Linked DNA regions of Homo sapiens: region 1 is linked to region 2. The links are contacts of gene promoters, found by promoter capture Hi-C in blood cells and fetal thymus (Javierre and others, 2016). All regions are on one chromosome and are shown on one strand. The core of a region is centred on a gene start or on the middle of the fragment in contact, and the rest is flanking DNA. Distances in the headings are between cores, read along the strand shown.

Region 1 (3,589 bases), core at 417-2,916, 320 kb before region 2:
ACATTATACCTCATAAATATATACAATTATTTATCAATGAAAATTTTTTAATTTTTTAAATGAAACCTCAACTAACTATTCTGGAAAAGACAATTCAGAACCAGACAGTAACACATGTTCTTATATATATCACCAAAAATTAAGGACAACTAAAATCATCTGTCATTTTTCCTATTCATCCAGTACAATGTTAAGCACAGAGTAGGCACTCAAATACCTCCATCCATAAGAATATATTTAGACAATTACCATTACTGGGGTATATGAGGATTTAGTTCAGCTTAGCAGATGCATTGTTTTTGTTGCTGTTGTCACCATAATCCAGCAATAGCAACTAAAAACACAGGCCTTATAGTCACACATCTGGATTCTGGGCCCAGCTTCGCCATCAGCAATATTCGATAAATGTTAGCCATGATTATTTAATATTACAACAATTACTGAAGTTAGACCACAAAAATGCTAAGTACTATTCTCCCAGAGAAATAAGTCTATAATGTAATTGCATCTTTATATCCTGTCCCCAGTTCACCCATGAATGGTTTCTACTCTTGTCTAGTATACTCAAGGCAGCCTAGTAAATTATTATTTATCTATACAATACTGGAAAAACTTGTAGACAAAAACATGACTTGAATTGCTAAAAAAAAAAAAAAAAAAAAGAGGGAGAATGAAAACTTCTAGACCTAATTAATCTGTTCACAGATCAGAGCTTTTTATTGAAAGGGAGGATGACTCCCCTTGAGAAAGGATCCTATGATACCCCAACTATAGTTGGTACTGTAAATCATACTCCAAACCTTCCCTCAGAAAGACCTATGGGCATTCACTACAGTGACTGTGCATGGGGGAAAAGATCTTTCAGGCATTACAAAAACATGGCACTGAACTGACCTAAAACATCACTGTGGTCCAAGAAAGAGGGCACGTAGGATGGTCAAGCGATTAATAAAGTTTCAGCCCAAAGCTGTCTCAGAGAGTTCTATGGGTCTGTAAATCCTTATTGTGTAATAGTTACTTCCCCAGTTCCTGAATGCATAATATAAAACAGGCAACTGAAAACAATCCCCAGATTAGCTCTCTGCTCTTCTCTGTGGGCCAGTAATATAGAAAACATGAAGTATAAGCCCCTAGAACTTTCCTTCTCTACAAAGATATTAAACTAAAGCAATGCTACATTCCTGAAGAAATTTTTTAGATTAATGCCACTGTAAAAGATTTGAGGTTGGGCACAGTGCCTTCATACCTATAATCCTAGCACTTTGTGAGACTGAGGATGGAGGTTCGTTTGAGCCTAAACGTCTGAGACCATCCTGGTCAACATAGCAAGATCTCATCTCTACTAAAAAATAACAGCCAGGCGTGATGGCATGCACTTGTCATCCCAGCTACTCAGAAGCCTTGAGGTGGGAAAATCACTTGAGCCCAGGACGGCAAGGCTACAGTAAGCCAAAATCACACCACTGTACTCCAGCCTGAGTGACAGAGCAAGACCCTGTATTGGAAAAAAAAAAAAAAAGAGAGAGAGACTTAAAAGATACAGAGGTAATCAAATGACCTCGTCCCCTTTACTGGACTGTTGTAAATGAATCTTGAAGAATGACTGTGGATGGTAAACTATCAGGTGGCGACTTCCATTGCAGCTGCTTTTCCAAATGAGGTATCTTTATTAAAGCAAATCAACAAATCCCCTGATATCTGGTAGGTAGTTACAGTTCTATCCAATATTTTTCTATCTTTACTTTTAAGGACTATACAAAAAGTCCACTTTTACCTGGCAGGAACAATAATAAATCTTTGCAATCTTTCCCTAAGACCACATCTCACATTCTAGAAATCCTGATCATCCTAACATCCTGCAGATCAACATAATGGTCCACTACATCATGACAGCACGCTGATTGGTCCAGATGAAAAGGAAACAGCAAGGAAATTAAATGCCTGAGTAAGGTGCAAACCAGAGAATAAGAGTCCCCAGAAAAACTCAAGATTCTGCAACCATGGTTAAGTTTCAGAGGTCCAGAGGTCTGGTCATGTCAGGATATTCCCTCCAGACTGAAAGACAAGTTGCTCCAACTTGTAACACCAACCACAGAAACAAAAGCCACAGTACTTAGTGGGCCTACTTGGATTTGGGAGCCAATATTTAGCATACTTGAATGTGTGCTCTAATCCAAGTATCAAGAAACATATAAGGTTGCCAATTTTGAGTAAGGTGCAAAACAAGAAACTCTGCAACAAGACCAGACTGTACTGCAAGATGCTCTGCCACTTTTACCTTAAGAGCACTTTCAATGACACTGACACTAGAAGTCCACAGCAAATAATGATGCTGTAAGGAGCCTGTGGCAACCTAATTGGGACAATCACACAGCAGAATGCTAGGGTCTTGGAGCAAAGCCACACCCTCTCATGCAAATAACCATTCTCCTTTTGAAAAACAGCTCCTAGTTCCTTACTAGTCCCAGATAGAGATTAATATCTATCTACGAAACTAATGTCTACAAATTCAGAGCTGTCCAAATGTTATCTGACACACCAACCATAATATTGAGCACCAGCAACAAGTATCCTTCATCAAGTGTTTTATAAAAGATCTGTCTTCACAAAGTCCAAAAGGCAAAAACTGAATAAACAAGTGGCTCAGAATTCAATACCTACTCCCACTATAATGTCTCCTCCTTGTTCTACATCAATAGCTTCATGGGGAACTCCTTATGATGAAATAATATGAGGGGAAAATACTCTTGGCCCTGATTTACAGATGGTTCTGCATGATATGCTGGTACTACCCCGAAGTGGATGGCTACAGAATCATAGCCCCAATCACAAGGAGAGTGGTGAAGGTAAATCTTCTCAATAGATAGAACTTCAGTCAGTATGTATGACTGTTCTTGTATGGATTTAGAGTTGGCTAGAAGTAAAGATCCTCACTAGTTAACAGAGTTGCTAATTTGTTAGCTAGATGGTCAGGCACTTGGAAGAAACAGAACTAGAAGACTAGCAGCAAGGAGGTCAAAAACAAAGGTCTATGAATAGAACTCTCAGAGGGTAAAAATACGTATGAAATATGTCAATGCAGACCAAAAGGCATCCATTTCAGAAGAAATGGGAGAAGTTATACACATTATATACATGACAGTAAGCCTCTCTCCACGGGCACTCCAGTGCTTGCTCAATGGACTTGTGTGCAAAATACCATGGCAACAGATATGGAGGCTATGCACAGGCCCAAAAATGTAAACTTCCCTGTACCAATACTAACCAGGCTACAGCTGTTGCTGATTGCCTAATCTGCCAAACAGTTACCAAAGTTGGGTGGCAAATATCACGTCATTTCCCAGGGGGAACAGCCAGCTATCTGACAGTAGGTTGATTATACGGGATTCCTAGTCATGGACTAGGCAGCAATTTGTCTTCAACATAACAAATATATATTCTAGGTATGCATTTACCTGTTCTGTCCATAGTTTTCTGCCGTAATATTATATAGTCCATTGCCTGTGGACTGACAGAATGTCATGGTATTGTAGAAAACTTTGCTTCTGATCAAGAAAAGTATTTCAAAGCAAAAAAAAAAAAAAATCTT
Region 2 (3,550 bases), core at 448-2,947:
AGGTCAGGAGATGGAGACCATCCTGGCCAACATGGTGAAATCCCTACTCTACTAAAAATACAAAAATTAGCCAGGCGTGGTGGTGCGTGCCTGTAATCCCAGCTACTCGGGAGGCTGAGGCAGGAGAATCGCTGGAACCAGGGAGTCGGAGGTTGCAGTGAGCCGAGACTGCACCATTGCACTCCAGCTTGGGCGACAGGGCGAGATTCCGTCTCAAAAAAAAAAAAAAGTTAGCTTAAAAGAAACCCGAAAGATGTAGTATCCTTGCTTTCATTCAGAAACATACATAGTTGTTTTAGGTTTTACTGTAAAGTGGTATGTTTAAGTTTACGCAATCCATTCATCAAACATTTCAACTTGGAAATTAAAGGCTACTTTGGAATACTGTTTTAATTAAAATCAAAGCAACAGGGGGAAAAGTTTTATGCTAAATATAACTTCATTGAAAAAGTATTCAGGAATCGTTGTACTGATAAAATGATTATCTTGATTAAAATGATGCAAATTCAACTGCAGTCATATGCAGCTATTTCTTTCAAAATTGTCACCATTTGTTCTTTTTTTCTGACACTACAATACTCTGCTTTCATTAAAAGCCAGTAAGGCGGCACTGCTTCTTCAATATCAAAACCTTTTGGAAACCTTGGTTCAGAGGAAGCTGCACACTCTTCACAGTGCTAGAAAGGATCAGTGTGGTCACTCTAGGACAAATGTCACTGTCATCAACACGTCTGGGTGTCTCATAGTGACCTGGGTCATGCAGAAGTGTGGGGGAAGGCTGGTGTCTGAAACAAAGTCGACAGCTACAGTGCCCTGAAAGGGGAGAGGTTTTAAGAATACTAGAAGATGAGGCTCCGACCTACGGGAAAGCAGTCTCCCGGGGCATATCAATTCCGGGGGTGCACCGTCCCCTCCCGCAGAAAAGGGACGCAGGTGTTGCCCTCCCCCGGCGACCCCACCGCCTTCTTCCCGGCGCCGCCGCCCCCTCCCCCAGCCCCCTAGTTACCTTTCTCATCCTCATCGATGCGCAGGGCAATGGAGATGTACTCGAAGGCCTGTTTGTGGAAGACTCGGACGCGCTCGGCCTCGCCGCCCGGCACCGGCGCCGGGGCCGAGGCCGAGGCAGGTGCTGGCGCGGCCCCGGAGCTCCTCTTGGCTGCCATGAGGGCGCGGGAGAAGCGCTGGCAGAGCCACACGAAGAGGAGCCCCAGGTGGAAGGCGACCAAACGCAGCAGCGCGAAGCCTACAAACAGCGGGTAGGAGAAATAGTACAGGTTCCGCTTATGCGGCGACTCGGGCGGAGGGGCCGGCCCGGCGGCGGGAGGGGCGGGGGCCAGGCAAGGGGGCGGAGGCCTGGGAGGCACCGGGTTGCTGGCGCCGCCGGAGCCTTTCTTCTTCCCTCGTCCACCCGGAGAATTCATTCACAGCTCTCACTGCCGCCGCCGCCATAACCCGCCTCCCGCAGACCGACGGGAACCAAGCGACGGCGGCAGCCACTGCTACGGCGGGGGCCACAGACCCCCGTGTGCCCGCCGGTCTCAGGAGCTCCGCACTGCCGCACGCTGCCCGCCGGCCCCGCCCCTTTCTCCTTCCTCGGCCAGGAGCACAACCCCTTCTCCTCCTGCAGTCGGTGGCTCGGGCCCCTCCCTTCCTGTCGCTGTCCTCTCCGCCGCCTGGTGGCTCCCAGCGGCGGCCGCGCACGCGCACGTCTTCCCGTGTTTTTCTCCGGCGCGCGCGCGCACGGCGCGTCTTTGTTGACCGGGGCCCCTGTACGCGTGTGCGGCCCCCGCCTCTCGGCTTTCCCACTCAACTACAGTTCCCAATGTGCAGTTCGGCTCACGTCGGCAGCCCTGGAGAGCTCCTGCCAGGAAGCCTTCGTAATCGATCCACGGAAGGGGGAATTGCGGCTTGGGGTCGCTCTGCTGGTTCGCTAGGCTCCTCTCTCAGTGTCGTCGTTTTCTTAGATTTCTTTCATCTTTTTCTGCCAGGCGACCTAAGTCTTCTCCGAAGGATAATTGGCCCATCTCAGAAGCAATGGATATCAATCTGGGAATTAAATTAGCCGGGCGTGGGGGCGCGCGCCTGTAGTCCCAGCTGGTTGGAAGGCTAAGGCCGGAGAATCGCTTGAACTCGGGAGGCAGAGGCTGCAAGTGAGCTGAGATCGCGCCACTGCACTCCAGCCTGGGCGACAGAGCGAGACTCCGTCTCCAGAAAAAATAAAATAAAAATTTAAAATCTGGGAATTATTTGAGAGGAAAGCAATTGTGAAGATAAGAAACTTCAGGTCACTGCAAACAACAGCAACAAAAATGTTAGCTCAGTGTGATGAGATCAACTAACCCAGGGGTTTAACTAAATTAGTGCATATTTAGATGTCTAATATGAAAGATAATTTATTTGAATAAGGGAAATCTTAGGTTTTGCATAGTTACCATCCCATAGTTTACTGAAGAATCTACACTTTTTTTTTAATCTACTCAGCATCCCTTCCTTTGGGAAACTACCTGCTTGTCTCTGCTCCCTGTATTCTAATGAGCTGCAAGCACAGAACCCAGACCGCAAAGGCGGAAGCAAACACTAGGTCAGTCAGATTCTCCTGGGACCTGGAATCTTGGCTGGAGACCCACCGAATAGAAAGTAACTGGAAACGAGTGCTCTTAAGAGCGGGTTTATCAATGCATCACATTGAGCTCCCCCAGAGCTGCTGGGTTCCTGACTGGTCACTTGGTTATGTAATCTATCCAATACACTAATCAGTCTGTTTCTCTGTTTCTCTCTTCCTCTCTCCTTTCCCCCTTCCTTCCTTTCGTCTTTTCCTCTCTCTCCCTCTCTCTCTATCTCCACGTCTTTTTTCTCTTCTCTTTCTCTTTTTACTTGAGTTAGCCATAATTATTTCTTGTTTCCTAAAACTAAGGAAGCCAAACTGATAAAAAGACTCCGTTATTTACAATGTGAGGTTTCCAAATGCCCCATGAGAGCTTCCAGCTTCCAAGAATCTCCACATTCTGCCACAGCTTTATTTTTTTATTTTTTGGACAGGGTTTCACTCCATTGCCCAGGCTGGAGTGCAGTGGCGCAAACAACATGACTCACTGCAACCTCCACCTCCCTGGCTCAGGTGATCCTTCCACCTCAGCCTCCCGAGTAGCTGGGATCACAGGCACACGCCACTGGGCCCGACTAATTTTTGTATTCTTTATAGAGCCAGGGTTTCACCATGTTGCCCAGGCTGGTCTCCAACTCCTGGGCTCAAGCAATCCGCCTGCCTCAGCCTTCCAAAGTGTTGGGATTACAGGCATGAGCCACCCCATCGCGCCCCCAGCTAATTTTTTTACTTTTTTGTTGAGACAGGGTCTTGCTATGTTTCCCAGGTTGGTCTTGAATTCCTGGGCTCAAGCAACCTGCCCGCCTCGGCCTCCCAAAGTGCTGGGATTACAGGCATGAGCCACAGCACCAGCCAATTTTACTTAATTATTCCCCGCCAGTACTGCCCTACAAATGTCACAGGCTATTGCAAAAATGACCTACTCCCTGTTTCCCTCTTATTGCT

What was found. The method cuts DNA at HindIII sites, captures the fragments that hold promoters and counts their contacts. A CHiCAGO score of 5 or more calls a contact.
Region 1: a contact is called between a fragment that was not itself captured here and the fragment with the promoter of SPAST in region 2, in 1 of 17 cell types (monocytes). The highest score is 5.1, in monocytes.

What each region holds. Positions count from the first base shown.
Region 1 is chr2:32,384,375-32,387,963 of GRCh38, reverse strand. All of the region lies in intron 3 of BIRC6 (baculoviral IAP repeat containing 6), which reads right to left. Among named protein-coding and RNA genes, the nearest start is that of BIRC6, 29 kb to the right of the region's middle. The HindIII fragment of the contact is 4,321 bases long and covers 1-3,589 here.
Region 2 is chr2:32,061,703-32,065,252 of GRCh38, reverse strand. It overlaps SPAST (spastin), which reads right to left and starts at 1,697. Exons shown (of 17, transcript NM_014946.4): 1 at 1,007-1,697. The coding sequence starts at 1,421. RefSeq lists silencers at 834-963, 994-1,413, 1,474-1,613 and enhancers at 985-1,785, 1,834-1,903. The HindIII fragment of the contact is 15,667 bases long and covers 1-3,550 here.